Regions from separate parts of the Homo sapiens genome. Here all the other regions are linked to region 1. Evidence: promoter capture Hi-C in human tissues and cell types (Jung and others, 2019). All regions are on one chromosome and are shown on one strand. The core of a region is centred on a gene start or on the middle of the fragment in contact, and the rest is flanking DNA. Distances in the headings are between cores, read along the strand shown.

Evidence for each region. Contacts are between HindIII fragments. The study calls those that stand out against the background at their distance.
Region 2: a fragment that was not itself captured here is called in contact with the fragment with the promoter of C12orf56 in region 1 in 1 of the 25 tissues and cell types used here (H1 embryonic stem cells).
Region 3: a fragment that was not itself captured here is called in contact with the fragment with the promoter of C12orf56 in region 1 in 1 of the 25 tissues and cell types used here (pancreas).
Region 4: a fragment that was not itself captured here is called in contact with the fragment with the promoter of C12orf56 in region 1 in 1 of the 25 tissues and cell types used here (dorsolateral prefrontal cortex).
Region 5: a contact is called between a fragment that was not itself captured here and the fragment with the promoter of C12orf56 in region 1, in 1 of the 25 tissues and cell types used here (IMR-90 fibroblasts).
Region 6: a fragment that was not itself captured here is called in contact with the fragment with the promoter of C12orf56 in region 1 in 1 of the 25 tissues and cell types used here (mesendoderm cells).

Annotation. Positions count from the first base shown.
Region 1 is chr12:64,388,802-64,392,702 of GRCh38, reverse strand. It overlaps C12orf56 (chromosome 12 open reading frame 56), which reads left to right and starts at 1,945. Exons shown (of 13, transcript NM_001170633.2): 1 at 1,945-2,389. The coding sequence starts at 2,138. The HindIII fragment of the contact is 10,638 bases long and covers 1-3,901 here.
Region 2 is chr12:63,899,087-63,902,987 of GRCh38, reverse strand. The region is part of intron 1 of SRGAP1 (SLIT-ROBO Rho GTPase activating protein 1); the gene reads right to left. Among named protein-coding and RNA genes, the nearest start is that of SRGAP1, 56 kb to the right of the region's middle. The HindIII fragment of the contact is 4,157 bases long and covers 1-3,879 here.
Region 3 is chr12:63,916,618-63,920,518 of GRCh38, reverse strand. All of the region lies in intron 1 of SRGAP1 (SLIT-ROBO Rho GTPase activating protein 1), which reads right to left. Among named protein-coding and RNA genes, the nearest start is that of SRGAP1, 74 kb to the right of the region's middle. RefSeq lists an enhancer at 873-1,661. The HindIII fragment of the contact is 5,861 bases long and covers 1-3,901 here.
Region 4 is chr12:63,994,184-63,998,084 of GRCh38, reverse strand. All of the region lies in intron 3 of SRGAP1 (SLIT-ROBO Rho GTPase activating protein 1), which reads right to left. It overlaps LOC105369801 (a long non-coding RNA gene), which reads left to right. Exons shown (of 5, transcript XR_945023.3): 4 at 1,495-1,555; 5 at 2,300-2,380. Among named protein-coding and RNA genes, the nearest start is that of SRGAP1, 150 kb to the right of the region's middle. The HindIII fragment of the contact is 6,628 bases long and covers 1-3,901 here.
Region 5 is chr12:64,074,621-64,078,521 of GRCh38, reverse strand. The region is part of intron 8 of SRGAP1 (SLIT-ROBO Rho GTPase activating protein 1); the gene reads right to left. Among named protein-coding and RNA genes, the nearest start is that of KICS2, 150 kb to the left of the region's middle. The HindIII fragment of the contact is 7,857 bases long and covers 1-3,901 here.
Region 6 is chr12:64,095,873-64,099,773 of GRCh38, reverse strand. SRGAP1 (SLIT-ROBO Rho GTPase activating protein 1) reads right to left here. Exons shown (of 22, transcript NM_020762.4): 15 at 2,399-2,533. LOC105369798 (a long non-coding RNA gene) reads left to right here. Exons shown (of 2, transcript XR_945018.2): 2 at 131-354. Among named protein-coding and RNA genes, the nearest start is that of KICS2, 120 kb to the left of the region's middle. The HindIII fragment of the contact is 4,186 bases long and covers 1-3,901 here.

The DNA.
Region 1 (3,901 bases), core at 696-3,195:
TTTTGTGAGGTGTGGCTATTCAGCAGAGGTGAAGCGCCTTTGCCTTTCTGTTAGTTTGAAGCAACAAACTCTATTTAGAGTGGTTTAGATAATGAGTAGTCTTTATTTTGGAGGAAATAGCCATGCGGCATCTTTTATCAATAAAGGTTGCTACGGATGGTGTAGTTCATTCATTTTTCATCCATTTATGAAGTTAGGAAGGCTCAGATGTGTGATGAGATCCTAAGAAAACTTTAACTACTAGGTCATTTAAGATTTTGCCAGCAGGTGGCACTTCTCTTTACTCACTTGAGTTCCTTAACATGATCTTAGACTTAAGTCTAGCCAGACCCTTACATGGCGGTGGTTCATGCCTGTATTCCCAGCACTTTGGGAGGTCAAGGCAGGCAGATCAGTTGAAGTCAGGAGACAAGCCATGGCCAAGATGGTGAAATCCTGTCTCTACTAAAAATACACACAGAAAAAAAATTAGCCAGGCATGGTGGTGTACACCTGTAGTCCAAGCTACTTGGGAGGCTGTGGCAGGAGAATGGCTTGAACCCAGGAGGCAGAGGCTGCAGTGAGCCGATATCATGCCACTGCACTCCAGCCTGGGTGACAGAGGGAGACTCTGTCTCAAAAAAAAAAAAAAAAAAAAAGTTTAGCCAGACCAAAACATTTCTCTTTCCCTTTGTACTAGTGTAGTCTACAATATCTGTTTATGGATTGTAATATATTTATACCTTCTTTCCACAAGGGATTTGAAGTTGCTTATAACATACAGTATACAATAATAAAATATGTAGAAAGGGAGAATATAAAGAATATATCAAATTTGATTCAGGGTTGCTGGCAGCCACAGCAATGAACGATATGGTTTCATTATCAGGTTTTTGGGTCAATGGGGAGGGGAAGAGAATAACTTTTCTAGGATTCGAAATAAAAAATGGAACTTCTGACTTAGAGCATTTCTGTTGTGCCCTTCTCATTTCTCTAACCTAATTAGTAAGTTATTCTTGGCCTGTAAAAACTAAGGAATACTTACTCCTCTGCAGCCTCAGGGTATGTAATCCGCATTCTTCAGTCTATCAGCTTCAACTTTTCAAGATGCCAGCATCACCCATTCATTCTTCCTGCATAGATTGTCCTGGGCATTGGAAACAAAACCATATGCCTTAGGTTGGTTTGGGTGTGCTCACATCAATTCATGTGAAGAATCCCTTTCTCAAAGGCTGGGCGAGGTGACTTAACGCCTGTAATCCCAGCACTTTGGGAGGCCGAGGCGGGCGGATTACCTGAGGTCGGGAGTTGGAGATCAGCTTGACCAACATGGAGAAACCCCGTTTTTACTAAAATATACAAAATTAGCTGGGCGTGGTGGCGCATGCCTGTAATTCCAGCTACTCAGGAGGCTGAGGTAGGAGAATCGCTTGAACCCGGGAGGGGGAGGTTGCGGTGAGCCGAGATGGCGCCATTGCACTCCAGCCTGGGCAACAAGAGCAAAGCTGCGTCTCAAAAAAAAAAAGAGAAAAGAAAAAAAAAATCCCTTTCTCACTGGTTGGAGAAAGAAGACCTATGTTTACACTCCGACAATATCAGAAAGCTGTGCCAGGCCATGTTATAACCAAAAGCTAAATCTGTGTGATTGGGTTTAATAGGTTTCTAGGGTTGTTAAAAATAAATCGGTAAATTAAACTCTTTCAAGTTTCTAACAGGAAACCAGATTGAAGCTGGCTTCCATTACCAATAAAGTTTGTATTGGATGGTGTGATCCGCAACAGAGTACGCAGTGGTGGGGACTGGCATTAGGGGTGGGCGGGAGAGACCCTAAAAATCCACCGCCCTTCGGCCGCAGGGGACTTCACGGTGATGAGCCCGAGGTGCCCATCAACTCGGGCCTGAAGGACCAGCGTCTTGCCCCGCCCATCGCCGTCTGAGGTTAGGACAAAGATCGAGAGGCTGGACAGGGCTGGGGAGGGCGCTCCAGGGAAGCCGACCTAGCGTCGATTCCTGCAGTTGCGGCCCGGGTCCCCGCGCCTGGAGAGGAGGCGACGCGTGGCCGGCGGCTTTGTGGCGCGCGGGTTCCAGCGCGGGGGCGGGGAGAGGGCGAGCTGAGGGCCTCGAGTCCCAGCACTCCGCCACGCTGCGGGCGCCGGGCATGGCCAGCCCCTTGCCGTCCGGCTTCCCCGCGCGCAGGAACAGCCGCCTGGATGTGTTCCTGCGGCGGCATCTGCCGCCCGAGGTCTACGACGCGGTCCGCGCCTACGAGCCATGCATCGTGGTGTCCAACTCTGAGAACCACATCCTCAAGTATGTGGTGCTAAGCGACCGGCTCGTCTACCTAACCGAGAACCCGCCCAAGTCCATCCGGCGGGTAGTGGCTCTGCGGGACGTCGTGGCCATTGACCTGGTGAGCGGCGCGGGTGGGCAGGCGGGCTCGGGAGCGCAGTGAGAACTCCCGGCTGGGGCCCCCAAACCCAGCCCTCCTGCGCGGGGAGGGCTGCCCCATCCTGCCCTCGACTCCCCTCCTCTTATTTGAGAACGAGGAACACAGGGAAGCTGTGGATTGCTGTGAGCACTCCTAATACAAACACGTCTCCCATTCTCCTCGTGTCTGCCTGTTCACCCATTCTCCCGCCTCCCCTACCCCACGTAGGGCTACAGGTTTGAGAACCGAGCTCCCTATCAAAAATACCTTTTAAAGTCATTCCTTTGTTAACAAAGCACCTAGTCAGTGCCAGGCACTGTGCTAGACTCGGAGGATGCAAAAACGAAAGAGGGCCCCTACCTAGAAGCAGTCGCTGGAGGGCTAGAAAGCCAACACCCGTGCAAATAAATGCTGTGTGTTAAGTGCTGTTATATCTCATTTACTTTTTTGCCCCCGATGCTTAGAGCATGTTAGATGCTCAATAAGAATAAATGCATAAGGCCGGGTGCCGTGGATCACGCCTATAATCCTTACACTTTGGGAGGCCAAGGTGGATAGATCACCGGGGGTCAGGGGTTCGAGACCAGGCTGGCCAACATGGTGAAACGCCGTCTCCACCAAAAGTACAAAAATTACCCAGGCGTGGTCGTGTGCACCTGTAATCCCAACTACTTGGGAGGCTGAGGCACAAGAATCGCTTGAACCTGGGAGGCGGAGGTTGCCGTGAGCCGAGATCGCCCCACCTGCACTCCAGCCTGAGCTACAGAATGAGTGAGACACCGTTCCCCTCCACCCCCTCCCCAGCAAAAGAATAAATGCATGAATAAGCAGATGCGTTAATGAGATGCGCACAGGACGCTTGGCAATCTCAGGCGGCTCACTTGATCCAAACTGGGCGCAGGGCCTGCTGGGAAACGTCTTGGAAGGAGGGGCGTCGACGCTAGGAGCTGGGCTTGAAAGACGTCGGGCCTGCCACAGCCTGTCGCCGGTTTTCGGGTGCTGTTCCTGTACCCCTTTCGTCCAGGAATAGATTTACCTTGTAAACCAGCAACAGACTGGAAGCACGGTCTCCTCTCCAATTACTGTTTTCCCCGCCTGGCTCCCTTTGTCTGAGCTGCTCTCCAGGTGTGTTCTTGGTTTTTCCGTTGGGGACAGGTGTCTAGCCTCGTTTTTTCATTCCCTTGACTGAGCCCCAAGGGAGAGGTTGGCGAGACGCTTGATGGAGCTGTTTTGCTGAGGAGTCATGGCTTGTTTTGAACGAGTCTGTAAGAAAAGAATAAAATTAAATGAAAAAAAAAGATTTTTTTTCTACTCGGAATACCTTTGTGAACTAATGTAACTGTGCCAATTTATTTTCTTTGTTGAGGAAAAGTTCGGGATACAACATTGCTTTTCCTCACTACCATTGTTTCCATTCTCTTGAACTAAAACAATTTTTTTGGAGACAGTCTCACTCTGTCATCCAGGCTGGAGTGCAGTGGCACCATCACGGCT
Region 2 (3,901 bases), core at 552-3,051, 490 kb after region 1:
TGTTACATTATACATAGATGAGAAATAAAGAATTGTGCTATTCTTAAACTGTTTACAATCTAATTGGGAGGTCAAGACTAAAACAAAAGATATGATGGAATGACCAAATGAAAAGTACAGACAGAATCCAGAGAAAACAAAGATCAGTTCAGTTTAGGAAGACTGAGGTTGCTATAACCCTAGGAAATGAGCAAATGTGACAAAAATAGTAAGTCTTTAATCAAAATAATAATAAGCAAGCAAACTAATTTTAAGCAATTGGATTGTGCAGGTCTCTTCATGCAGCTGTCATTTTGTTTCAAAGTTTAGAATTAAGTTAACTGCAAACTGAGGAAATAGAAAAATAAGCAACTGTTCCACTTGCACATATTAAAATGGATTTAGTTACTTTATAACCAAATCTAGTCCATCATTTTAGGGAAGACTTTTGAACAGATGCCTCCAGTCTCTCTGAATAGGCAGTAAAAGCATGATTATGGGTAACTGTGGTTAGTCTGCTTTCTGCTTAGGTTGGATCTCCATTCCACAAATTACAAATTGTGACCCTGAAACACCCTGGAGATTAAGTTGATTAATCTCTTTGAGCTTCAGCTTCCTCATCTATAAAATAAGTTTAATAATAGTATCTACCTACTAGAAATACTGTGAGGGTTAATACTGTTCTTGGAATAGTGTCTAGAACATAGTAAACATTCAATAAATCTTGTTGTTACTTGCCTTTTTCATGGCTCTTTGAAAATTAGCTGTTTTCCCTACAGTTCATTGGAATGGGGAAGGTTATTTCAGACAAACTAGAGATCTCAACTTTTGTAAAATGTTTTTAAATAAATTTTTTAATAGCGATGGGGTTTCACCATGTTGCCCAGGCTGGTTTCGAACTCCTGAGCTCGAGCGATCCGCCCACCTCAGCCTCCCAAAGTACTGGGATTACAGGCGTGAGCCACCACACTCCCCAGCCAAATTTCTGTAAAACATGTCTTGATTTTGCAAGTACTATAAAGTCCAAACAAGGCAAGCTTGCAAGCCAAGTCCAGTGAGCTGCCAATCCCTGGTTTAAATTTTCATGAAGAACAATGTTAGGTGACTTATTGCATAAAGATGATGTTAAATTAAACTCGACAACCTACAGGGCTTAAACAATTCTAATTTAGAGTTCAAGCTTGATTATTACTCATGTGGGTAGAAACTTGATGATAATCCAGTTAATTTTAAAATCTCATTAATTTGTAAATGCCACCCATCAAATGCTAGAGTCTAGCTTTCTTCCTCAAAAAGTTGGGAGGCCAAACTGTGGTTAGTAGCAGTTTGTCCCATTAAAGCTCAGACAATCCAGTTGGGGAGGTATGACTAAAAACAAACAAGATGTGCAAAACAATATGTGATTAAGGGCTAACCTGTTGTGACGTCAATGATGGATAGGCCAAGATTATGGAGCGCTCAGGCTGAGCAGGAACAACCAGAAAGAAATGGCACTGTGTGTGGACAAAGTAACATTTTGCTCAGCTTTAAAGCACAAGTAGAATTCAGATTACAGGGGAAGGAGGAACAAGCTATAATAAAGGCAGAAAGACAGGGGTGAGCTCAGCATGTACCAAAATCAGACCAGACAATACAACTCAACAGGGAGACTTTACATTTTGGAGAACTGGGGAAAATAAACTTGCATAAACATGGTGCAGGACTGGGAATGGCTCATTTTTTCTTTACAGATTTATCCAGTGTTGAAATTATTTGCCCTGGGGTTCCTCACCTCTTAGTATGGAGAAGCAAGAACAAACCATATTAGGAATACTGCTTTTGAAGAGCAACTATGAGGTTTCTCCAGGGCAAGGACCTTAATTCTATTAACCTTTGAATTCTTAGCACCTGGGACAGTAACTGGCACATAGTAAATAAGTGTTTCCAAAATGCCTGGCAAATAAATGACTGAACAGCCACATAGCAGCAACCCAAACCAGCAGGTCAGAACTGTCTCTCATTTAAAAAAAAAAAAAATAGGTGCACAAGTGTGGTTGAGAGGTCATAATCTATAAACATTCTCAAAGAGATGTGTTTTATCACCTCTACTGCTCACTCCTGTTATACATAAACCTTTTCTTTAGCATACATTGTTTTTTTACTTAGGTTTGATAGTACAAAACCCTAAACAATAATTTCTTTGTTATTTATTTTTTGAGATAAGAGTCTCGCTCTGTCACCCAGGCTGGAATGCAGTGGCGTGATCTCAGCTCACTGCAAGCCTCTGCCTGCAGGTTCAAGCTATTCTATGCCTCAGACTCCCAAGTAGCTGGGACTACAGGTGCATGCCACCACACCTGGCTAATTTTTTGTGTTTTTAGTAGAGACAGCATTTTGCCATGTTGCCCAGGCTGGTCTCGAACTCCTGGCCTCATCTGATCCTCCCGCCTCATCCTCCCAAAGTGCTGCGATTACAGGTGTGAGCCACCAAACCCAGCCCTATTTTTAATTAGAGAAAAAAGCATGGCCGGGCACAGGTGGCTCACGCCTGTAATCCCAGCACTTTGGGAGGCTGAGGCGGGTGGACCACAAGGACAGGAGATTGATACTATCTGGCTAACACAGTGAAACTCTGTCTGTACCAAAAATACAAAAAATTAGCTGGGCGTGATGGCACGCACCTGTAGTCCCAGCTACTCAGGAGGCTGAGGCAGGAGAATCGCTTGAACCCGGGAGGCAGAGGCTGCAGTGAGCCGAGATCGTGCCACTGCACTCCAGCCTGGGTGAAAGAGCGAGGCTCCACCTCAAAAAAAAAAAAAAAAAAAGAAAAAGAAAAAGAAAAAGAAAAAAGCAAGGGCAAACGGAGACATAAGGCATTGCTTAGTTCATAACTGCAAAGCTGTTGTCATCAACATCATTTATTTACCAAATTAAAGGTAGAATAGTCCATTGGAGGTATCAGGAAATCTGTAACAGTTTAAGACTACAATTTATTACATGCTCTCCCCCAAAATAAACCCTGTTAAGAGCTCTATCAAGCTTCTAGAAAGTTTTTTGACAGTAACATGCCTTCTGCATCGAGTTCAGTGCCTCATATTTATTAGTGAGTTATTTCTAAAGGCAGATACACTGGAGCAAAGATACCTTACATTTATTATATAAGGAGTCACTTCATAGCTTCTATTTAAACTTACAAACATATATAATATAGAGATTTTTAAAATCACATGCACACATTGTTAAATTCGGTTTAGCCTAATGCTGCCTCCTTACATATTTTAAGTTTAGCCCAAGGTTTCCCTGTACATAATGAACTGTAACCTAACTGGATGTGTAAACAGTCTGTAACCTACTCTTGTGCCAATCACCAAGTTTTGGCCAATCAAAGGTGGCCAGCTGTTCAAACCATGTTCAAATAAGGCAAACGCGGAGGTGTTAACCAATCTGGGTGGTTCTGTATCTCACTTCCAATTTCTGTAGCCACTTTCCTTTTTCTGTCCATAACTTCCACCAAGTAGCTGTGCTGGAGTCTCTCTGAACCTATTCTGGTTCAGTAGCTGCACGACTGGTGAATTGTTCTTTGCTCAATTAAACTCTGTTAAATTTAATTGGTCTAAGGTTTTTCTTTTAACAACAAAAGTACAATTTGTAATATTCCTATTATGTAGCAAACCTGGTTCCTTTTTTTTTTTGGAGACAGGATCTCACTCTGTCACCCAGGCAGGAGTACAATGGCACTCCTACCTCTGCCTTTGGAGTAGCCGGGACCACAGGTGTATGCCACCACACCTAGCTAATTTTTGTATTTTTTGTAGAGACAAGGTTTCACTATGTTGCCCTGGCTGGTTTCAAATTCCTGAACTAAAGTGATCCACCCACCTCTGCCTCCCAAAGTGCTAGGAGTGCTGGGATTACAGGTGTGAGCCATCGTGCCCAGCCTGGT
Region 3 (3,901 bases), core at 995-3,494, 470 kb after region 1:
TCTCATACTCTCATATCAAGTCTAAAGTACAGTATTTACCATGGCATCCCAGGTTCTAGGAGAACTAGCCTCTCCACTCCTTCCCAACCTTGTATCTCCAGCTCACTTCTCTTTATTCACAAGGACTCTCTTGCTACTCCATGGACATCTCAGGATAATTTCAGCCTGTGTTTTGTTGCCTTGGAACATTCCACCCATCAGTCATTCATGGTTTGGTCGTTCACTTCATTCAGGTTTCTGCTCAAGTCACCTCTTCAGAGGCTATATCTCAATAGTTATCAGGAAATGTCAATGAAGACCACAATGCAATGTTATACCCACCAGACTGGCAAAAATTAAGATGTTTTATAATACCACGTGCTGATAAAAAGTGGGTCTGCTGGAGCTCTTAATCACTTATGAGTGGGAATGTAAACTGGTGATGCTCCTTCGGAAAACAATGCAGTCGTATCATGTGAACTTGAACACTGACATACCCAATAACCATGCAATTCCACTCCCAGCAATAGGCCATGGAGAAACTCCTGTATATGTGTGTTAATAGGAACACATGAAAATGTTCAGCAACATTGTTCAAATAGCAGAAAGCTGGAAACAATCCAAATATCCACCAACAGGGCAATGAATCAATTGATTCTGCATACTCACCCAACAACACATAATTCAGCTTTTAAAATGAATGAACTACAGCTACATGCAACAATGTCAAACAGTTATACTATTTTTACAAATCAAAACAAACAAGCAAAATTAGCTGTATAGTACTTATGAGCATATTTTTAAGGGATAAATAACATTTTTTAAAAAAAGGCAAGAGAAAGAAAAAAATTAGGAAGTAGTTGCTTCAAAAGATAGGCAGGTATATGGGATGGGGCAGAGCACAGATAAGTGCGACAGAATTGGCAGGGCTTTTGTTTGTAGATTAGGTGGTAAGTCATACATATGACACTGTTATCCTTTATAATTTTCAAACATAGTTGTGTGTGTGTGTATGTGTATATATATATATATATATATATGTAATGTTAAGTTAAAACAATTAAAATATTGGCCAGGCACAGTGGCTTACACCTGTAATCCCAGCACTTTGGTAGGCCAAGGCAGGTGGATCATTAATATACAAATATATATTAAATGTTAAGTTAAAACGATTAAAATATTGGCTAGGCATGGTGGCTCACACCTGTAATCACAGCACCTTGGGAGGCCAAGGCAGGTGGATCACTTGAGCCCAGGAGTTCCAGATCAGCCTGGGCAACATGGCGAAACCCTGTCTCTACAAAAAATACAGAAAGTAGCCAGGCATAGTGGTGTGTGCCTGTAGTCCCAGCTTCCAGTCCCAGGAGACTGAGGTGGGAGAATCACTCCAATCCGTGAGGCGGAGGTTGCAGTGAGCTGAGATTACACCACTGCACTCCAGCCTGCACCACAGAGCAAGATCCTGTCTCTAAAAACCAACTAAACAAACAAAAACACAAAAAACACCCCTCCCCAAAAAAACCAAAATACGAAATAACTAACATACCTCTTCTCTGAACTTCATTTGTCTTTATAGCACACGTCACTCCCCAAAGAATATATACATACACACTGACTCACACTCATGCACTCATTTCCTTGTTTATTTTAAGTCTCTCCCATTAGAATGCAAACTCCCTAACTGTGGAGTCTTTGACATTCTTGTTCACCACAGTATTTCCAGGCCTAGAAGAGTACTCGGCATATACAATAAATATTTATGGAATAAATGAATAAATGGATGAACAAATGGCCTAGATAGTGCAAACAAAGCAATAGAGCACTGGCTGGTGCAACGGCTCACGCCTGTAATCCCAGCACTTTAGGAGACCGAGGTAGGCAGATTGCTTGAGCCCAGGGATTCGAGACCAGCTGGGGCAACATGGTAAAACTTCATCTCTACAAAAAATACACAAATTAACTGGGCATGGTGGCACATGACTGTAGTTCCAGCTACTCAGGAGACTGATGTGGGAGGGTCACTTGAGCCTGGGAGGCAGAGGCTGCAGTGAACCATGACTGCACTACTGCACTCCAACCTGGGTGACAGAGTGAGGCTTGTCTTAAAAAAAGAGAGAAAGCAATAGAGCATAAAAGGCTTAGTTCATGAACCCTGAAGTCAGACACTTCCAGGTTCAAATCAAGGCTCTCATTAGTCTTCTTAGCTGGGTGACCTTGAATGAGTTGCTTAACTTCACTGGGTTTCCGTTTTCTCATCTCTAAAACAGGGTAATGGGGGGAGGAGGGGTTGTGATGATTAAAAAAAGAATTTAGCACTTTGTCCAGCACAATATTATTCTTGCACAACGACAGTGTAATTTCCTCATAAAAAGCGGCTTTTTATTGCTCAAGGACATAGCTTTGAGCAATCTGCATTCTTTACGCAGTTTTACTATGACTGATTTTGTCCACACCCAATTTTAAAATGTGAACCAATTGGGCATCCTATAGTTGTTGCTACAGTTTGCTCAGACTAAGGCCATGTGCTAGGGAAATCTTGTAGCCACCAAACTTCCAGTGAGTATGGCACAATATAATCTTGCATTTGTGCTAGCCACTAGCATAGGAAATCAGCAAGACGAGAATAGCAAAAATAACAGCCATTTATTCACGGTTTTCTGTAGGATAAACAACACAGACACATCATCCCATGAACTTCTCACAGCTAGCGTGGGAAATTGGTGTGTACAAGAATTACAGAAAGCAGGGTGGGAAATTGGTGTGTACAAGAATTACAGAAAGCAGGTTCATTATAAACTGTTTTCAAATTTGGGCCTAAGCAGGTTCTGAAATAGAGACCATATTCAAATAGTAATTAGAAATTCTTAAGAGTAGATTTGCACTATCAGCTATAATATATCCTTTTAAAACAAAACAGAAAGCAAGCTCTTTCACATCCTAGATGATGACTTATTTTATAGTAGTAAAACCCAGGGCCTTCGCTGCTGTGAAGCCCATGCAGTCCCTTCCAAAAATTATGGTAGCAAATTCAAAAGGAGCAACTGCGCAGTGCTGTTGACTCACATTGCTCCCAACACACTCACAATAAAAATGAACTTTTCAGTGAACTGACCTATATTTTCCACCCTGGACTCTAGCCAAGACCCAGGCATCCATACCTCTAATGGACCATACTGTCTTAGAGAGCCCTAGGTCTTTCTGGGAGTCTTTTCCAGTTCTGCTCAGGCTCCAGGTCCAAAGGACAGCCCAGGGGTTCCGACGACTCAGGAGAATCCCAGATGAATAATAATTACTCATCATAACAATAATAACGCTTTATACGGTGTTTACTATGTATCAGGCAGTATTTATTATTAGTGTTGTACATATATTTGCTCATTTAATCTGCATAACTGCCATTAAATAGCATATCCCATATGTTATATCCCATGGGGTAGATATAAAGCTTGCAATATGACTAAATCTCACAAGTGAGATTCCTTAAAGTGAACACATGAAATCTATATGCAATCTGACCTTGCTGAGCAAGGTGAGACCACAGCAGAAATCAGCAGCCCATGCCAAATGATCCTTGGTGGTACTGGAAAATGATCTGGCCTCGTGGTTTTGATCAAATGGCACACTCTCCTCTCAGATCCAAACCACAACTTCCCCAAAATTAATCAAGGAGAAATAAATGGATAGAGGGTGGAGCAGAAGAGTACTTAATTTTTGTCACATTTCACACCCTAACTACTTCTCATTAAGTCTACTGGCCTGCATGCGATTCCCAGACCTTTCTTAAATCTCATGACTTTTATATCATCCTAGGCACCTTATGCCCCTTCTCAGCTTTCAGCATAGTCACAACTTCCTCTGGAATTTCTTCCTGATTCAAATGTTCCCCGTCATTTCCCTCCAGCCCCTCTATGCTTAGAACACT
Region 4 (3,901 bases), core at 376-2,875, 390 kb after region 1:
AAGTGCTATAAAGAAGAATAAAGCTGGGGAAGGGAGGTGGGGATGTAGACTTTTGCTCTGAGTGTGGTGAGAGTCATTAGAAGATTTGGGCAAAAGAGTGATAGGCTCTGCTTGAAGTCGAAATAATTATTCTAGTTTTTCCTATTTATGTATTCGATTGGTCATTTAACAGATACTTTGGGAAGTAAGGTGGTTGGAGCCCATGTAGAATCTGCCGTCATAGTCAGAAGTCCTCTGATTTCATGTCTTCCTATTTTAACCATCTTAAGAGTGCATAATCCAAGTGAAATTTTCAATTGGACCCGGAGAATAGGCAGATTCTCCATTAATAAGCAGCATTTGGGGATGAATTATTTACTGGATAGGGTTTTCCCACTCCTTTACAGCAAACAAACACTGGTATACCTGGACCAAACTTTTCCTTCAGACTTCAGTTTACAAAAAATAACTGTTTTATTGTGTGTTTTATTATACAACTTGTTCATTGTGTAAAATCAGAAACTACAGATAAGCAAACAGAAGAAAATAAAAGTAACTTAGAGATATCCATTTAAAACAATTTACCCTTCTAGATTTTAATTTTAGCTAAAAAATAAGTTTTCAAGCATTCCTTGACCACTTATCTCAATGTAATTATGAGTTCAAGTACAGGCAGGCCATTACTTAACCACAGAGACATATTCTAAGGAATGCATCATTAGGCAATTTCATCATTGTGTGAACATCATAGAGTGTACTTACACAAATCCAGATGGTATAGACTACTATATACCTGTTCTATATGGTATAATCTACTGTTCCTAGGCTACAAACCTGTATAGCATGTTATTGTACTCAATGACGGTGGTCCCATAAGATTAGAATGGAGCTGCCCTATGCAGGTGTATCATTTTTTTTATCTTGCATACTGTAATTGTATTGTACCTTTTTCTGTGTTTAGATACTCAAATACTTACCATTGTGTTACAGTTGCCTTCAGAATTCAGTACTTCCTCTTGTTATATTAAAGTTAAAGCCAGGCCAATCACACATATCCTGTTGTTACTAAATAATAAAAGCAACAATGTAACTCCAAGAACAGCAGCACCAATAATTGCTATTCAGAGAGCATTTATTATGTGCTTGCCATCCTGATAAGCAATTTATAAATACAAATTAAAAATATTTTCTAAAATATTTCAGAAAATTACATCATTGCAAAAAATGATAGTTTAGTTTTGGCTTATTTCTTAAAAAATAAAAAGTTAGTCATAGGGTTGATAAAACCCAAGAGAACCAGCTAGCAGTGTTAGCTTGAACTATTCTTATTTATCCAGGCCCTATCAATAATTAAGCTGCCCCTTGAGGCCACCAGAATACCATTTAATTCTTCTGCAACACTGCACTAAAATGCTTTGGAAAAGTTCTTCTTGTTATATTATTTACTACTGTTATATAAGTATACTAAACTATATGTGTTAGCTTACTGCTAATAAAAGCCAATTAATTTTTCAGCGAATATATGACCTGTTTGTACATGACAACCATGACCATCATTACTCCAGAAAAGAAAACAGTAAGAATTTAATTCAAGACATGAAATTCTAACAAAATTCAAAGGCCACCCTCTGACTTGATAATTCTACTTCAAAAAATGTAGCATAAGAAAAAAAATCATAGATTTAAATGTCTAACAACAGAAAACTAACATGGCCATGCACATAGTAAAGTACTATGTAGTCATGAGGTAGCCTATTTCCAGATGTGAGAAATGCTAATAATATTCTATATGAAAATGGCACCTTTCCAAGCCATATAGAATGAAATCTCAATTCTGTAAAATATACACATATATATTTAAGTATATGTATACACATATAAATAGTGAAAAGATAGAGCCTAAAATTTAAAAGTAGTTAGTGTTAATATGGGTAATTATTATTTCTTTTTATATTTATAGCGTTTTCTAAATTTCTACAATCTATATCTATTTTTATATTCAAAGAGAAATAGGTTCTTTTTTCACATATAGAGATTGGTAGTTTTCAGATGCTTTTAACTTATGGTACTTTTTTTAAAAAAAAAAACAAGGTCAGAGCCTTAGAGATCTGTAGTCAAGTGGTATCTTTTATTAACTTCTACTAAAACATGTTTGAATATTAACCTATTTTAAATGGTGTATTTGAAACTACAGCTTTTCTCCTCCATAAAATATCTTTGCTTTTTTTTTCATGTTGGGGTATTTAAATAGAATATGGCTGTCTTTGATCAAAATAAAAAATAAGTATGAATCTTACTAGTAACCTTTCCTTTCTTTCAGATTAAGCCACACAATCAGCAATACCTAAAGTGAGTCAACTGAATTTCTGTGAGTCTGACTCTGACAACCTATGGGACTTATGCCAAAGAGGGGTTATTCTCACTGGCTTTGGGCCAGTTTCTGCTGCTTTGAATCCCTCCCTATAACTTGGATGATTGACAAATGTTGTGCCTCTTCCCAGAATATCATTCTTCAGTCTTTTCATAAGAATGACTAGGACAAGAACCATAGTGTCCTATTTCTCAGAAGTTTCTGACCCTATGCATTGGGTGACATCTCTACCACCAAAAAATACCAACAGAGTACATAGGAGCTATGAACTATCTAAGACATACGGGCAAAGACAAGAATACATGCTAGTCAGCCTGATGCTGCAATTTATACTCCTGAGCATTTTGTTTCCTTATCCCTGAAGTGTGGATATAATACCTGTTCTCTGGGCAGCTGTGAGGATATGTGAGCTAATTTATGAAAATGTAGAGTACAGTGCTTGGCACATAGCTAAAACTCAGTAAGTGGCAGCTTATAGATATCATTATTGGTGAAGAAACAAGATGAATTATATTGTACATGTATTTATGTAAACCAAGGAAGGATAAAAAATATTAATGATTTTAAAACAATCTTTGGGGAAATGACAGACTTCAAGGTAATTTAAAACCCATAGAGATAACCTAACATATTCAAATGCCACCATTTGATGGTATACCTCCAAACTACATACTTCTATTAACGTTCTTAAAATTGGTAAATAACACCTTGTGATTAGGTGCTTAAATAAAGTGATTATTGCAAGCTGGCTGGATAGCCTGTCCTGCAACTGTGACAGATGACATTAATTACATTTTTATGCGTAGCATATGAACTGCACATTTTCTGGCTGCAGAACCAAACCAGATGCAGAGTACTCTGTTTCAGCATGAGTAATGGAAAGAAGGAAGCAAAAGCTCATGACTGCAGAAGGCAGAGCTGGAGAACAGGGCAAGAGGCACATCAGCCCTGGTTCTTTGGGAAACAAGTGAGGGTTGAGAATGAAACAAGCCCTTGTGTAGCAGGAGCCTCCAAATTCTGACCTTCTCTTAAAATAGCTAAGCAGAACTTAAGAGGTTAAAAGCAGAGTACTCTCCTATCTGTGTTTACATTGTCTACATCTAGTAGAAGGTCTGGAATTAAATAACTCTTTTGTTGAATGAAGAAATCAATTCAGCCTCAAAGGTAAGGCGCTCCATGTGAAATGGCTGTGGGGGATTTGAGAGGCATGGAGTCTCGGCCAGCTTGTGCATTCACTTGGATACTCCCTGATTTCCCACTAAATGTTCAAAGGTGAGGACAAAACTCTTAATTTAGCCACAAACAATGCTGTTGTGAGGGCACTTATCACTGTTTGCTTACAAATATTGTTTGGAACTTCATAATAAGTAGTAAATAAAACTGATTCTCTGGAAGGGTTTTTCACATCATTATGATACTCTCCTTAGAATGAGGACACATTTGGTATAATATTTGGTATAATCTCACATTACATAATTATTGTAGGTATATAGAATAAGTGCTTATAATAGAGATAATAATAAAGATATTAGATAAAAGTTACCAGGACTT
Region 5 (3,901 bases), core at 800-3,299, 310 kb after region 1:
TATGAGACTGCTTGTGCCTCTCCCAATTACCATACACCTATACCCTCTCCTTCTCCATTAACTGGACTTCTAAGATTAGATATTAGCTTTGCCCTTTCTTGCTCTTTACATGAATGAAATCCTACAGGATGTATAATTTTTGTCTTCCTTTTGCTCAACGTGAGATACACTCATTTCTTGTGAGTATATTTCACTGCTATTCATTGTAGGAATACACTGTAATTCATCCATTTTACTATTGATAGATGATTTTTTTTAGTTGTGGGCTATTTTGAATAATGCTGCTATAAACACATTTTTGTTTAGTCACACATATATGAATAGAATTGCTGCTTAACTGTTTTCCAAAATGATTGTAATTTACATTCTCACCAGCAGAGTGGAAGAATCCCTGCTATTCCACATCCTCATCAACAGTTGGTATTGTCAGTCTTTCTTTTAAATTTAAACAATTGTGTTGGGTGTGCAGTGGTATCTCACTGTGGTTTGAATATGCATTTCCCTGATATATGAGATTGAGCACATTATCATATGTTTAAGGCAATTTGGATCTCCTTAATTGAGAACACTTTGTTAAAATCTCTTGCTCCATTTTCTAAGTTATGAGTCTTTTTCTTAATGATTTGTTGAGATGGATATGAGTCTTTTTGTAGTTGTATGTGTTGCAAATATTTTTCCCCACTGTGCTGTGGTTTTTCCCTCTTTCAATAGTGTCCAGATGAACAAAGATTCTAATTTTAATATAATGCATTTATCAATTCTTTCCTTTTAGTGTTTTTTGTGTCCTATTTAAGAAATATTTTCCTATCTCATAGCCATAAAGATACTGCTTTATGTTATCTGTTAGGAGCTTATTTATTTATTAATCTCCTAGTAGTCTTTTTATTCACTGAAGGTCATATTCTACCTTTGCTTATCAAAGTATAATGTAAATTGATAGCTTTTTCCTTCTGTCACACAATGTAAAGAGTTTAGAACACCTTAACTTCATTTACTCCTCCTGATTTATATGCTATTTTTGTAATATATTATAATAGAATATATATAAATATTAATATATAAATTTAAGACATTATTATTTTATGTAGTCAAGATTCACTTAGCATCACCCATGTATTTATTACATTCTTTGATGTCGAGTGCTTATATTTTAAGTGTACCCTTTAGAAGTTCTTTTTAGTATGTGTCTGTTTTGTTGACTTGACAACGTCTTTTATTTCACCTTCATTTACTAAATATCTTTTTCTGTGCAGCAGTTATTTTCTTTTTGTATATTAGAAATATATCACTGTACTTTGTTGTGGCTTCTATGTTCCTGTTGAGTGAGAAGGTTACCATCAGTCTGTCATTGCTTTGAATAAAATCTGCTTTCTTTTTCCAGCTGCTTTAAAAATTTTCCATTCATCTTTGGGTTTCTACAATTTCACTGTAATATATCTAGGTAAGGATTTAAAAAATATATTCTGCCTGGAATTTCTTGGACTGCTTGAATTTGTGTGATGTTTTTCATAGGTTTTAGTAAGTTTGCAGCTTTTATCTTTTCAAATATTGACTCTATATTCTTTAATTTTTCTTTCTGAGCGGGGCGTGGTGACTCACACCTGTAATCCCAGCACTTTGGGAGGCTGAGGCGGTGGATCGCTTGAGGTCAGGAGTTCGAGACCAGCCTGGCCAATATGGTGAAACCCTGTCTCTACTAAAAATACAAAATAGCTGGGCGTGGTGGTATGTGCCTGTAATCCAGCTACTCGGGAAGCTGAGTCAGAAGAATTGCCTGAACCCAGGAGGCAGAGGGTGCAGTGAGCTGAGATCGTGCCACTGCACTCCAGCCTGGGCGAAAAAGTGAGACTCTGTCTCAAAAAAAAAAATTTTTTTTTCTTTCTGGGAGTTCAATTAGTATATTAGACATTACTGTGTTCTCTATATCTCTTATTCTTCTTTTCCATATTTTATTATCTTTTGTTTTTGATGCTGCGTTTTTATTATTTCTTCTGATTTGTCTGCTTTCATGATTTATTTTTTAGCTCTACCTGATGTTAAACTCACCCACTGCTTTCTTAATTTTGGTTATTTCTCAGTGCTAGAATTCCTATGTAGCTCATTTTCAAATCTGTTATTTTAGTGCTTATGATTTCCTGATGAAATCTAAGCTTGGCTTTTAAAAACCTCCTTGAACATTGTAAATAGTTCTTTTGTCATTTATTTCTGATAATCCCAATATCTGGAGTTCCTGTGGGTGTGTCTCTATTGTCTATTATTTCTTCTGGCTATCACTCATGGTTTCTTATCTCCTCATTGTCTAATTATCTTTGCTAGATATTTTTTGTAGAGTTACTTGAGGTCAAAGGTGAGGTTATCCTCCAAAGAGAATGTTTATTTTCCCAAACCATTAGGGGCACTAATAGCTCAGAATCTCTGGATTTTATTACTGTTCAAAATATTGGATGCTCTTCCTTTTGGGAAGATATGGTTCCCTGTGTCACAGGTTTCAGGCTTGGCCATGCATCTTGTCCTAGAAAATGAACTTTGAAAGAATCAGTTGAGTGACCCAGTCCATCATTACAGGAAGTGGAAATCTTTTCAATTACTTTTTTTTTTTTTTGAACAAAATAATGTTTGGGAAAGAAACAGTAGCAATTAGTACTAGTTTGGATGCTTAGAAGGTCATGTGATGGAATTAATATTAAAAAAAGAAGGGAAAGAAATTTAATAGACAATAATCATTCCTGGGGTTATGCACAATGCAAAGAGTAGATACTGTTGGAAAAAAAGCATATTAATGACCATTAAAAATACTGTAATTAATTACTTTAAGGAGGTCATAATCAAATATCTATAGACTGAATTAAAAGAGTCACCATCCTACACTAGTCAAATAGGCTCTTGTAGCTTGTAGACAAATTTCTAATGACAGTATCACGCACAGGTTTTAAAAGCACTGTATTTCAAACAAACAGATGTGAAGATGGTATACTCTGAGAAAAGTGTACTTGATGACTCTGTTGGGAACAAGCCCCCCAAAATCTGGCCATAAACTGGCCCCAAAACTGGCCATAAACAAAATCCCTGCAGCACTGTGACATGTTCATGATGGCCATAACACCCACACTGGAAGGTTGTGGGTTTACCGCAAGAGGGCAAGGAACACCTGGCCCGCCCAAGTCGGAAAACTGCTTAAAGGCATTCTTAAGCCACAAACAATAGCATGAGCGATCTGTGCCTTAAGGACATGCTCCTGCTGCAGTTAACTAGCCCAACCTATTCCTTTAATTCGGCCCATCCCTTCGTTTCCCATAAGGGATACTTTTAGTTAATCGAATATCTATAGAAACAATGCTAATGACTGGCTTGCTGTTAATAAATATGTGGGTAAATCTCTGTTTGGGGCTCTCAGCTCTGAAGGCTGTGAGACCCCTGATTTCCTACTTCACACCTCTATATTTCTGTGCGTGTGTCTTTAATTTCTCTAGCGCCGCTGGGTTAGGGTCTCCCCGACCGAGGTGGTCTCGGCAGACTCAAAATGTGGCTCTGGTAATGACAAACACAATATCAGGATATATGAAGAGCCTTCATAAAATTGTGAAAATGAGAAAAATATAGTATTTCTAAATTAAAAGTTTTATATAATGTGATTTAAAATATTTGTGCATAACTAAATTAATAGCTGAATACTGAAGGTAAATATTTGACTATGTTATCTACATCTCCATAAATTTTATATTTATAATACTTTTAAAAAATGGAAGCCTTTACTTGTGCCAATATTTAGTAATTAAAATACTACAAAGTAAATGCTGTTATTTCTTTATTCAATTAAACTCTTGAAATTGACAAACATGTAAGAAAACAGGCAAAACTCAGTATACTGTGTTGTCTGAGAAGTCAGGGAAGGTGCCATTCA
Region 6 (3,901 bases), core at 573-3,072, 290 kb after region 1:
CCACTAAGCATTGTACAGCACTTGTTATTTTTCCAGACTTAAGCTTTTTGGCTAGGATGTGAGGGAAATCTTTGGACATGGCCAAAGGAGAATTCCAGAAGTGAAACACCTCCTTTTCATTTCTTTCCAGCTGGGTCAGAGGTTCATTGTGATGACTCAGGCTACGCAAGGGCCGTGGAATGGACGTGCAGCTGTACTTCTAAATTCCAATGGGACATCAGACTGGGGAGGATTATGACCGGGAAATTCATACCCAACTGGAGCCAAGACTCTAGGCACTGATGCCAGACAAAGAACTCGTGGTGGAATCTTGACTTTTCAATTCATTTCATCTATAAATTCTATTTAACTTAACATGCTCCAGGAATTAACTAATTCCTAACCTTCGGGAGTGGACAAATGTTAGGGCTGCAAAACTACTCCACAAGCCTGTGGAGCTAACTGTGGGCACTCCATTGAGCATATTCTGTGCCAGGCACTCTTCTTGGCATTTTACACATATTAACTCACTAAATTCTCACAACCCTATGATGTAAGGATTAATGTTCCCCCTATTTTATAGGTGAGGAAACTGAGATGCAGAGAGCTTAAGAAACCTGACTAAGGTCACACAGCTGATGAGTATGTGACAGAGCTAGGATCTGAAGTAGGCTCTTTGAATCCAGAGCCTCTATTCTTAACCTACTGCCTAAACTCATTTTCTAGTAGTAGGAGACAGAGGGGTTAAAAAAATTATAATGCGGGGAGATCAGAAAAATTCTGGACATACGTACCCAATAGAATAATGGGAGAGGAGAAAGTGATTAATCCTGGTTGGAGTGGTGGGGAGGACAGAGTTGTGGGAGGAATGCCAATTTGGCAAAGCCTTCACAGCAGATGTTGAATGGTTATCATGGACAGCTGAGGAAACAGCATAGGCAAGTGGATGGAGGTGGGAAATGGCCCAGCATATGTACAGTCTGCTACTGCTGAAATATACAGTAAATATGGTAGGGTAGCAGGAGAGGGCTGTGCAGCAGTAGCAGAGATCAGAGAGAGGAATAATTCAATTATATGAATTGGCCATGCCATGGAGTTAGCTTTTTTATTTTTTTATTTTTTTTTGAGACAGAGTCTTGCTCTGTCACCGAGGCTGGAGTGCAGTGGCACGATCTTGGCTCACTGCAATCTCTGCCTGCCAGACTCAAGTGATCCTCCTGCTTCAGCCTCCCAAGAAGCTGGGAATCCAGGTGCATGCCACCATGCCTGGCTAATTTTTTATTTTTAGTAGAGATGGGGTTTTGCCATGTTGCCCAGGCTGGTCTCAAACTAATGGAGACCAAGCAATAAGCCCACCTTGGGGAGTTTGCTTTTATATTGAAATAGGTTTTAAAAAGGGGAGAAAGCAAGCAACCCAGTTTTTTTTTTTTTTTTAACTCTAGCTGCAGTGTGAGAATGCAGGGCCAGGGGGTAGGGGTTGGGAAAAGAAGGCAAAATCTAGAAGTAGAGTCCATTTAAGACACTCTAACTATCCCCAGTGAGAAACCAAGGTGATGGGGATGGGGAAGGAGGGATGAGTAGTGAGATGTTTTTTTTGAGGGCAGATCAATAGGACTTGTTGATTCAGATGGGGGGTGGAGGGACTGTACGGAGATTTCTTTATTAAGAGTAAAAAGTTGATTCTTATGAAGCCTAAGTGATTGAAGTCAGCTCTAGACTCTTGCTGGGAACTCGGACTTAAAAGGGACACTGTATTTTTAGATGCATGGATCTTGATTGTGGCTAATAATTAATTCATGGTATCATTATTTTCACCTTCCTTTGTATAGTGTCAAAAAGCCCCCACTGAAGTAAACAGCAATGCTTTACTTTGCCAATGATTATCGGTTTCATAATATGTCATACACAATCCCAGAGCAACTCTGCCTATTAGCTTGGGTTGCCCACTGACAGATAATTACCACCTGGTGTTCCTGCACTGTAATAAGGATCTTTGATTTCATTTTATCCATTTCTTGAAATAACATTGAAAGATGGATAAATTACCCCACTCCTAAAATTGGTTGAGAAAAACCAAGAATCAAAAGCCAAGAAAAGGTCACATTTCCCAGCTTACAACTTCCTCCTTTCCCTTAGGCAGCTGGCACCTGGCTTTCTGCTCAATTCCAGCCATGAGTGGGAAGCTCCTGGCTTTCTGGAGCCAGAGGATGTTCAGGAGGAAAGCCCACTCAGCCGAGGGTGAGGCCACAGCTGGGAGGATGACTCGCACTGGATCCAGAAAGAAAACAAATGGTCCCAGAAATATGGTGGTAATGGGGTAATGGGGGTGGGGGTGTATGGAGGGGGGCCACTGCCTTTTCCAGGAAGTTAGCTAGTGAAATAATTCTTGTGGGAAAAGATGAAAAAAATGTCCACTTACTGATACAAGAAATCAGATCGTTAAATCTTTCCTTAGGAAAGAGGGGGTTTTCCAGCCCACGGAAATAGAGCTTCAGAACGCCAGCAACTGAGTTAATATCATGGTTACTCTGGTCATCAGCCAAAGGATTTTCACCTAAAAAAAAAAAAAAAACTCATTACATTAACAGTGCTTCTTTTTCTCTGAACAAAAATATATTTCTATGAACATACACGTTGCTATATATACATGTATCTTTTAATTATGCTTTATGAAAGATTATATGGTACTAAAATTAAAATAATTGGTTTAGATATCCCACCCCATGATTAACCTAAAAACAGTTGACTAAAATAAAGCTTTTAAAATCTTATGCTACTAAATAATCCCTTACAAGTTACTCAAATCTTAAAATAAAATATTGTGGAATTTATAATTTTACCCAACCCCCACTTTTTTTAAGCTGAAATCTGTAATCTTAGTTTGACATGAATTCAAACACTACATCCTGTGTTTCTTACCCTACTGGGAAAAAGACACACCATAGGTCTGTCTGACTATGCTATATGGGTCAGCAAAATTTATCAGAAATGTCATAGGTGCCACTGAATTGTGAACACCTACAATTAAATAAGTAGGTATTTCCCAAAGTGGCATGGTGGTGTTCACAGCACATCTGAAGGCTGTCTTGAGCAGAGGCAGACTCTAAAATCAGATAGAGGAACTTGAAAATGTACCTTTCATGTTACCAAGGAGTTTGTATAAAAAGTGGGAATTTAAAAAATATATCACAAATATAAAATTATTTTTTTTATGGTAAACAACTTTAAAATATTAGGCAACTAGTCTGGTGAGCGTTTCTTTCTGAGAACTAAATTAAATTATTAGGCAACAAGTCTGGTTATTGTTCCTCTAGAGATAAAATCCTTAAGAAGTTCAACATAAAATACAACCTTAAATCAAATTCTGTTTTTTATTTACAGTTTTATGCTTCTCTTCTAAAGTTCACAAAAAGTGTGCATTGCATTTTAACGTATTTTTTTGCTTCTTAGGGCAATTTATTTTTAGGGATCTGTTGTTCTCTTTTCTCTGTTCCTAGGGCAAGAAATCACTGAACATGAATTTATCAGAATATAATAATTACTATTATTTTTGCCCACTGTGAGAAAGCCTCACCCAAGCAGATCACAAACAAATAACAAATACTGGGAAAATTTCCAAGGAAAAATGATCATGTATTTTGCCTGTGGTGGCTAGCACAGAACCTGATACTTTACCATATTTCAGCTTACCCTGAAGATGGCCAATGCATGAGACTTGGCACATGTGGCTGCTCTGCTCTAACCATCAATTTTTACAGTTTTGCAGGTGAGGAAATCGAGGCCAAATAGGAATTGAGCGACTTGACCCGTATCACATGATTGATTAGTGGCTGAGAGTCTGATATGATTCTAGGTCTGCCTGACACGAAAGTGTGCAGCTTTGCTAATTATAATGTGCTAATTGGAATGTTTCTAACATAAG